2 separate regions of the Homo sapiens genome follow, and region 2 is linked to region 1. The links are contacts of gene promoters, found by promoter capture Hi-C in blood cells and fetal thymus (Javierre and others, 2016). All regions are on one chromosome and are shown on one strand. Each heading gives the region's core, a stretch centred on a gene start or on the middle of the fragment in contact. The rest is flanking DNA. Distances are from core to core; before and after follow the strand shown.

The links. Contacts are between HindIII fragments. The CHiCAGO score rates a contact against its expected background, and 5 or more counts as called.
Region 2: the fragment with the promoter of RAB21 here is called in contact with the fragment with the promoter of PPP1R12A in region 1 in 1 of 17 cell types (naive CD8 T cells); the score reaches 6.8 in naive CD8 T cells.

Annotation. Positions count from the first base shown.
Region 1 is chr12:79,933,017-79,937,692 of GRCh38, reverse strand. PPP1R12A (protein phosphatase 1 regulatory subunit 12A) reads left to right here and starts at 2,596. Exons shown (of 25, transcript NM_002480.3): 1 at 2,596-2,998. The coding sequence starts at 2,762. It overlaps PPP1R12A-AS1 (PPP1R12A antisense RNA 1), which reads right to left and starts at 2,412. Exons shown (of 2, transcript NR_146535.1): 1 at 2,139-2,412. RefSeq lists enhancers at 2,081-2,646, 2,370-2,664, 2,711-3,010, 2,647-3,210, 3,351-3,410 and 1 more and a silencer at 3,091-3,180. The HindIII fragment of the contact is 9,894 bases long and covers 1,235-4,676 here.
Region 2 is chr12:71,752,209-71,756,884 of GRCh38, reverse strand. RAB21 (RAB21, member RAS oncogene family) reads right to left here and starts at 2,022. Exons shown (of 7, transcript NM_014999.4): 1 at 1,597-2,022. The coding sequence starts at 1,755. RefSeq lists enhancers at 1,131-1,320, 1,961-2,250 and a silencer at 1,701-1,980. The HindIII fragment of the contact is 5,965 bases long and covers 1-3,753 here.

The DNA of each region.
Region 1 (4,676 bases), core at 1,347-3,846:
TGGTGCAGCCAAAAATATATTTTTATATATACATATATGCAAATTAGTAAGTATAGTTTTATTTGTACTTCTATTTTAAGGCTTAATTTGCTTTAAAGGAGCTAAAATGTATCCTCACATCCCAATCTGTTTAGAAGCCATTAGGAAGTGAAAATATTTGCATTTTTTCCATTTGTTCTGCTTAGACAAATATGTAATAAAAGCATGTGTGTGTGTGTGTGTGTCTTTTTTTTTTTTTTTTGGTAAAGATAGGGTCTAGCTCTGTCGCTCAGGTTGTAGTGCAGAGAGCTCACTGCAGCCTCGAACTCCTGGGCAGAGTTCGCCTCAGCCTCTCAAAGTGATAGGATTACAGGTGTGAGCCACTGTGCTGGGACTGTGTGTGTCAATAAAAAATTTTGCTTGTTCTAGAATTAACCCAAGGTCTTCAGTACCATTAATTCACTAACAACAATTTAAAAAAAATCCTCCCTAAAGACAAAGTAGGTGGCAGTTTCAGAGTACTTTCAATATTAACATAGAGCATCTTGACCCTTAGAGCCACGAAAGAAGAAAAACTAAATTCAGTGAAATTTGCACATGATAGCAGCCCTCCTTGGTTGTTTTTTCCCTGACAGCTTCTGGGAACTGAATGAACTTAATTATGTTTTATTAATAAACTATTATTAATTTTGCATCCTGAAATAAGTGCTTGAATCAGGAATAGCATACTTCCCACTAAATTCCTTTTGCCTGAATGAAATCTTCAGATTCCCATCTATACTGCAAGGGCACTTTAAGAGCTACCACATAGGCCATAACGTTCTTGGAAAACAGGATATGCTGTCAGTTGCCTAGGTAGAGACAGGAGCTGACAAGGCAATCCTCAAGTTCCTTTCTTTTATTCTGAGAGCTGTATTCTGTGGATAGGGATTTTGTATTTTAGTGCTAACAATGTTTTTCAGTACCTAACACCATGAGTATTCAAAGGTCTGATGTTATCTTTAATGTATGTAATGAACATACAATGGTATATCTTATGAATATTACATTCATTTTCTATTCCTACAACGTTTTCAGAGGAAATATTTTTACCCTGACCTGGATTCTATCGCTATCCTAATAACTGTGGTTCAGAAAATTGTCTCACAGGCAGACAGTTTCCTAATCACGTTTTACTCAATTATTTTATTTCTCAATATGATAGGCTGTGAAGTAGTCCACTGGAAAAGGCATCATGCTGAGAGTAAGAAAAGCTTATTTGTTCACTGCTCTATCTCCAGCACCTAGAACAATGCCTGACCCAGAACAGGTGCATAGTATTTGCTGAGTGAATTCTAATCCTACTTCTGGGTAAAATTAAGTAAATTAATTAGTTCTTGAGGGACTCTGTCTAGATGACCCCTAAACTTCCATGGTAAGGTTTTGTGGTTTTTATCTTGGCTTTTCTAAATGCTCTAAAAATAGTAGTGGATGGTAACAATGCAGTGTTCAGTAAAATCAATTGGTGGAGATTGTAGATAGATGGCTCATAAGACATCAGTATTACAAATCCTATGTGTGTGCGCGTGTGGTCATACAAGGCAAAGTTAAAGTCTTTTTTTTATGACGATGATAAATTAGTCTTGTTTGGGCGACTGAACTCAAGAGGTGGTTCAAATAAATGTCATATTTTTCATTGTATCTTCAGTGCCTAGTACAGTTACTGGCTCATAGTAGGTATTCAATAAATAGTGGTTGAATTAATTGCCTTCCTTAACGTTCCGTTTAAATGCTAGACGCAGCTAGGTCTTTACCCCTCCTTAGAAAGAGATGGAGCTGTAACCAGAAATCCCTTAAAAGGTAAGGACCAGTAATCAGGCTGAGCTAAGCTCATGGGTAGTACGAGACAGGCTTAAAGCACTGAAGGAAGAAAGAAGAGAACCCAAGCGTGAGAGAAAGCAAAACAAAACAAGTAAAGAGAGGAAGAAAAACATTTCTAAAGTGGGGGTTGGCAGGAAGCCACAGCAATTACAGCAGGTCAACCCTTGTCAATAGGTGGTCACCTCAAGAACTTACCATTAAAACCCTCGGCCACACAGACCCCACTTTTAAAAGGTTATTAATTCTGACATGCCCAAGTTCATCTGAGTTCCTTAGAAAGATCAACCAGCAGCACCTACTTCACGACCTATCCTCCATTCCATTCAAATAACGCGGCCAATAGGAAAATCCTCCGCCCTGAGCCAACGACTCGGCGTAGCTGAGACAGCACGGGAGGCAGATCTGCCCTGTAGAGCCTTGCGGTTCCACTGCTGGCCTCCGGATTCCCGGGAGCCCCCAGCCCGACAGGACAACCTTCCTTCCCCGCTTCCTCCTTTCCAGGTCTGTCCCAGCCCCCGCTGCCTGGGCCACACCCGCTTCCCTCTGGTGGCCCAGCCACCACCGCCGCAGTTCGCGGGAGCGCTCTTCCTGGGGCGGGCACAGGCCCAGGGCGCATGCGCACTGGTCGAAGGGCGCCTCCCAGTCCGGATCTCGCGAAGTTACGTTAGATTGGCCGCCGGTGACGGGTGGCCGTGCTGGGGGCGGGAGGGCTTCTGTGGTAGGAAGGGAGGTCCGCTCGGCCGGGTGCGCCGCCCCAGTGCTCTGTGGGATACTGGAAGTCTCGAGCGTCGGCTCCGGGTTCCCAGCCCTCCTCTGGCCCGCACTCATAGAAACATTCACACACCCCCTGCCTCCCCTCTCTTCCCTCTCCGCCTCCCCCTTCCCCCCCTCGCGATAAGAAGACCCGGCGGCAGGAGAGGGGATGAAGATGGCGGACGCGAAGCAGAAGCGGAACGAGCAGCTGAAACGCTGGATCGGCTCCGAGACGGACCTCGAGCCTCCGGTGGTGAAGCGCCAGAAGACCAAGGTGAAGTTCGACGATGGCGCCGTCTTCCTGGCTGCTTGCTCCAGCGGCGACACGGACGAGGTCCTCAAGCTGCTGCACCGCGGCGCCGACATCAATTACGCCAATGTGGACGGACTCACTGCCCTGCACCAGGTCTGTGCGCCCCGCCGCCGGCTCTCCTGACCGTGAGGGTTCTCGTCGGCCTCCTGCTCGGGCCTGCCCTCAGTTCTCCACCTCTTGAGGCTGGGGGCGGCGGGAGACTCCCTGCTGCGGGGTGAGGGGGCGGTTTCCCCAGAGGGCGGGAGGGAGAGCTGGTGGAAGGGAGGGCGCTGGGCTTGAGGCCCCCCTTCAGAACAGTTGCTGGTGGAGTTGGGAACCGGGTGATTTCCGGGGCATAGGGGAAAAGGAACTGTGGTCGTTTGGGGCCCCAGGGCCATTCGTGGATAAGTCTGGGATTTGGGGTCGAGACAAGGAGGGGTGTAGTGGGGTTGTGCCTGGGCCCCGGTGTCAGTGGTATATTCGGAGGGGTGGATGCTGAAGGAAGAAAACTAACAAGGGGCATTACGGACGGTTAGGCAGATGAACATCTTTGACTTGTAGGTGGGCATTGGATTTGTTGCACTTTTTAGGACTTGATTACAAATGATGATAATAATAGTAATCTAGAGCCCTAAGCCGAGTGCCCTGAACGAACGATTTCCTGTTTTCTCATTTATTACTCTTGGTCACTGGGGAGGGGAAAACAGGGTGTAATTAGCTGATCTGCACCGGCTGAAAGGAAGGGGATGGAAGTGGGTAGAGTAAGGAAGCCCTCTAAAGGGCTTGCCCACCTCCGGACCGGAACGTGTTGAGTCTGATACTCGAAGTTTGCCGCAGTGTCAGAGATCCTTGAGCCCCAGGTCCTCGGGTGTGCACTGGTGTTAGAAAGAGAAGAATAAATAGGGGACACTCTTTTCAAAGCCGGTTACCAAGCTCTGGTTTTTCTTTTGGGGTTGGGAAAAAAGAAAGCTGGTCACAAACTTTTCTCAAAATGGATGCTTTGTGCATATTAAAGTTTTATAGTAGTCTGATTGGGATCTCTCAATGTTAGCCAAATAAGGAGAAACTATTGGCAATCCAGAGATAATGTTGCCTTGCCTTTAACAGGCCAAAAGCAACACAACCACGTAGAGTTATGCATAAAAAGCAATTTTTAAGTGACGGTAATAGGTGACAAAACATAGGCTTTTTCTATTTTCTTAGCGGGCAACTTGGAATAACTGTAATAGAAAATGACTTTGCAGCGATAGCTTCCCCTTAACAATGAAAAGACTTGTAAGCTATCTCAAAGTTGCCTTGGTTGTGTGTGGAAGATGCATAGCCTTATTTTGAATAATGTTGTAGTAAAAACTTGTTTGGGAGGTTGAAACTCAAGGCTTTATATTTCATGAATATTAACTTGATGCCTTTTAAAAAAAAGGTGTGTAGTGACATTTTTCCTTGTCCTGCTTACTGTTTAAGGGAGTGATGACCATTTTAAATTTTGTGTAATGGAATTCTCTTATCAGACTTGGAGTATAGCCTTTGTTTACAAAGTTGACTGGATATATTGAAATGATTGACACATTGCAGGACAAATATGGAATTAAAAATGTGGCACCCAGTAAAAATATAGCAGGGTGTCTAGCGCTTTCTCAATTTCATTAATTTAGATTCTCTAATGCATAGCAAACTTTTTATTTGGGTGAAGTTTATTTAAGGCATATCATAACTCGTAAAATTTTAAAACCATGGTGTTGAGAATGAAGGAAACTTTTGGCATTAAAAATGATAATGTAATTATATAAGATGA
Region 2 (4,676 bases), core at 773-3,272, 8.2 Mb after region 1:
CACTAAACTATCCACTTCATAGGGTGTTATAAGAATTAAAGCAAGCAGACAGAAAGCAAGCAAAATAATCAGCACAGTAAGAACTCACTAAATGTTAGCTATTGTTACTACTTTACCTAAGTAAATCTCTAAACTTCCAAATGATCCTAGGTATTTGTCCAGTGAATTTTCTTGATCTAAAACACCAGGCTCTCACTAATGACACTGAACAATAACAATTCATTATTAAAATTTTGTCAGTGTTCTGGTACAAGGATTTTTTAAAAATGCAGTTTCCTGGCACTCACTTTTTCAGATATGCTTTACATACGAGTAAAATCAGAGGAGTAAAAATAGAACATGGAATCAGAGCCAGAGCGTCTTGTAAATTCTAGACTCAGTAGTTTAATAATAGCATCAAACATCCAATGTCACAACAATTAGGAGATTACGCATTCTATTAAGTAGTGTCGATGTTCTCACATACTACACATTTACTAATTAAGACCTATTGTGCAAGTTGGGGCGGTAATTAAAGGCAGACAACTTACACTGGACCAGGTCATCAGTGCTTTTTCTGTATATTTATCCTGACAACCCTATGAGCTAGATACTACTATTATGGCCATTTTAACAGAAGAAACAGGCACAGACAGGTTAAGTAACTTACCCAGTATGACACAGCTAGTTAAATGGATGGAGGTGAGACATGAACCTGGACAATCAGGCTCAAAAGTCCACTAGACTTTACTGCCTTTGACCAAATTGGTAAGTCAAATTAGTAGGATAAATTTCTCCTAATAACATCAAAACTGATTTCTCTGGGAGAGGTGGGGTGAGTACAACTCCCTCAAAGGCCTGGCTTCACTCTCAATCAATGATAACATTTTAACACCTTTCCAATGTACCTGTGGAAGAAAGCCGACCTTTTATTTTACAGGTAAAGAAACTGAGTAACAGCAGCGGCTTTTAGTCTGGGGACCAATTGTTGGCCAGTATTCACTTGATGTTTCAGCGTGGGTCAATCGACCTCGCAGAATATGAGTGACCCGCAAGTCAGACCCACGCAGGCTGCAATGAAACTGCGTAACACGCCTAGGCAAGCGGTCATTTCAAAAAACCTCCAGAGATGGCTCTTTTGCCATTCCTGTTACTCAGGACAAAATGGAACTTGCATAAACACTTAGTCATCAGTAAGCGCTGAAGTTACAAATCACCTAATTCGCAAAATCAAATACGCAGCTAAGTTCCTAATTCTGAAAGAAAGAAAAGGAGCTAACATTTGGAGACTGCAACACTGACACCTGGGACCCAGGAACTGCAGTAAATGGGAAAAAACAGCCCACGGACGGAGACCACAACGTGCGCAGCCACCACGGGGAACACTGGGGACTTTTCAGGGCCCTTCCACTTCCCTCCCAACAGCCTGTCCTCGCGTCTACAGGCTGCCCCGACCTGGTGATTCCCCAGGGCGAATTCGGAAAGGTAAACCGAAGGCGGAGATGACAGGCCTGAGATTTGCCAGCCTACATCCAGGGGACCAGGGCGGCAAAGTTTCCCCAGCCCCGGAGGGGTAGGGGCCCTGAGGCGCCCCCTCCCGCTCCCCGAGGTCCGCACCTGCAGAGTGGTGATGTGCTTGTCGTTAAACTTGTTCTCGCAGTAGCGCAGCACCAGCGACGTCTTCCCCACGCAGCCTTCCCCCAGCAGCACCACCTTGAACGAGTAGGCTCGGCCCGCCGCCGCCGCCCCGCCGCCGCCGCCGCCGGCCGCAGCCATCCCGTCGCTTCCCGGCCGCCCGAGCCCGAGTGTCGCGCCGCCCTCCCGACAGCCGCGGCAGCGCCTTCACAGCCACGGCCGGCTCAGCCCCCACCGCCCCGGCCCCGCCGACCCGGGCGCTGTCCCCACGCCCTCCTCGGGCGAGGCCTGGAAGGGCTGAGGGAAAGTCCGAGAATGAAGGGCCCCAGCCCACCACGTCAGGCACCGGAGGAAAAGCGAAGAACGATCCCTCTCTGCCTCCCTCTAATGGCGTCTCCTTCCTCCTACGTCACACCTCGGGTCACGTGAGCGCCGGTGCCGGGGCGGCCCCTGCGACTAGCCCCAGAAGAACGTGCCTGGACGTGGGCGGGGCTTCTGGGGCATCTCCCGGGGTGGAGCTGGATGTGAGTCGAGCGCCTACTGGCAATCTAGGGCAGAGCCCCGCCGCTTGCGAGCCACCTCTGCTTTTCAGTTGGTGGGAGCCAGCGGGAATAAGGAACCAGGAATTTGAGGCGAGCCCAGCTCTGGTGAAATGAAGGGCAGAACTTCATCGTTTTTGCATGTTCACAATGCTAATGATCTGTCACACCAGAGGTCACTGTAAACCATATCTGCCAAGGTGCCCTTGAATCTCTCTCTGTGGGATCCCGAATCATAGCGCTTCCAAGTTCCTCTGACCGCCTGGTCAACTACTCCATCATCTTTCAAGTCTCAGCTTAAACCGCGTCCCTGACCACCCAATCCTTCCCCCATCCTTCCATTCCCCCACCTCACAAAATTAGGTATTTCTTACCACCAGTATACCTCCTTTACTAGGGCTTTACACACTCCATGGATATTATTAATACTTTGCTAAGTGTTTATCGACTCTCATTAGACTATAGGTTTGTTGAGGGCAAGGTCTGTATAAGAGCTGCCCACCTTTGAATTCCTAACCCCAAGTGCTCTTCAGTTTTTCTGACTTTCATGAAGCCTCTGACGTTCCATGGTACTCCACCTTGAGGTGGCTTGTTCGATGATTGCTTGTTTTTTCTCATCTGCATCCCCATTCTTTTTTGTTTGTTTGTATTGTTAGTTTTGAGATGGAGTATCGCTCTGTCGCCCAGACTGGAGTGCAGTGGCGTGATCTCAGCTCACTGCAGTCTCTGCCTCCTGGTTCAAGTGATTCTCCTGCCTCAGCCTCCCGAGAAGCTGGGACCATAGGCGCCCACCACCGCGCCCCGCTACTTTTTGTATTTTTAGTGGAGACAGGGTTTCACCATGTTGGCCAGGCTGGTCTTGAACTCTGACCTCAAGTGATCCACCTGCCTCGGCCTCCCAAAGTGCTGGGATTATAGGTGTGAGCCACCACGCCCGGCCTGCCTCCAAGAAACCATACTCCTCCAAGAAATCATACTAATATTTCTGAAAATTTACTGGAAACCTGGTGTCAGGTAAACATTTTTTTAAAAATCAAACTTCTTTCACACTTCAAACCAGGTTAAAAAAAAAAAAAGAGGCCGGGCGTGGTGGCTCATGCCTGTAATCCCAGCACTTTGGGAGGCCGAGGCGGGCGGATCACAAGGTCAGGAGATCGAGACCATCCTGGCCAACATGGTGAAACCCCATCTCTACTAAAATACAAAAAATTAGCTGGGCATGGTGGCACAAGCCTATAATCCCAGCTACTCGGGAGACTGAGGCAGGGGAAGCGCTTGAACCCGGGAGGCAGAGGTGGCAGTGAGCCGAGATCGCGCCACTGCACTCTAGCCTGGCGACAGAGGAAGACTCCGTCTCAAAAAAAAAAAAAAAAAAAAAGAGAGTCGGTTAATTCATTCAACAAATATTTAAATGTGCCCACCATATGCCAGGCACTGTGATCAACAAGATAAAATGTCTCTGTCCTCACAGAGCTTACATTTTATCAGGGAAGACAGACATACTCAATTGTACAATAAATGCTTTCATCTTGATGAAACAGTTCAGAGTATCTTGCAAGCATATATGAGAACCCAACTGATTTAGCATGCTAGAGAAGCTTTCCCTGGAGAAAGTTATCTTTGGGTAAGAGTAACCTAGTCAGGAAGGACAGGAGAGCTCTGCAAACAGAGATAACAGCATGTTCAATGGCTTTAGATAGGAAGGAGCATCTAAAGTTGAGCAACTGTAAATGTGACTAGAATTTAGGGAGGAAAAAAAAACTCCAGAAGAGACCATGAGGAAGTTGGGGATCAATACTGAAAGGGTCTTTAAGCAAATGAAGGATTTTCGTAAGATGACTGACATAATCAGATTTGACCACTCTGGCTATCATTTGAAAAGTGAATTGGAGAAGGATAATATTTTAGATTTGTTTAGAACCAACCATTAAAGAGACTCTATGTTTTATAAAATATCCTCATGATTGTATCTAAAGATATATTTTCCAACTCTCTCCTCCACATTCCTCCCCTTAGGGTCTTTGCACATTTATAGACACTTCCAGAACTAGAAAAGAACTTCATTTTGAGAGAGCACCTTCCATTGTTCTTTCTGAGCACTTCCTCATATTGGATTGAAATCTGCCTCTCTTCACCTGCAATTAATTATTTCTGTTTATATTTATACATTATATATCGAATCCCTATTCCCTATAAACATATGAAGAAGGCTGTGTGTTCTTCCTTTAAGCCTTCTCCTTTCTTCTTTTTGATACAGCCAATCCTTTCAACAACTTTTCAAATTGTGTGCATTTGATTATTTAACAGCTTGGTCATCTTAGAAACTAAATGCATTACTTTGCATTTATCACTAAATCAAAGCAATTAAAAATTTTTTTATTGTAAAACAAAATAATTTTTTTGTGAGACAGGATCTCACTCTGCTGCCCAGGCTGGAGTACAGTGCCACAATCACAGCTCACTGCAACCTCAACCTCCTGGGCTCCAGCAATCCTCCCACCTCAGCCTCCCGAGTAGCTGGGA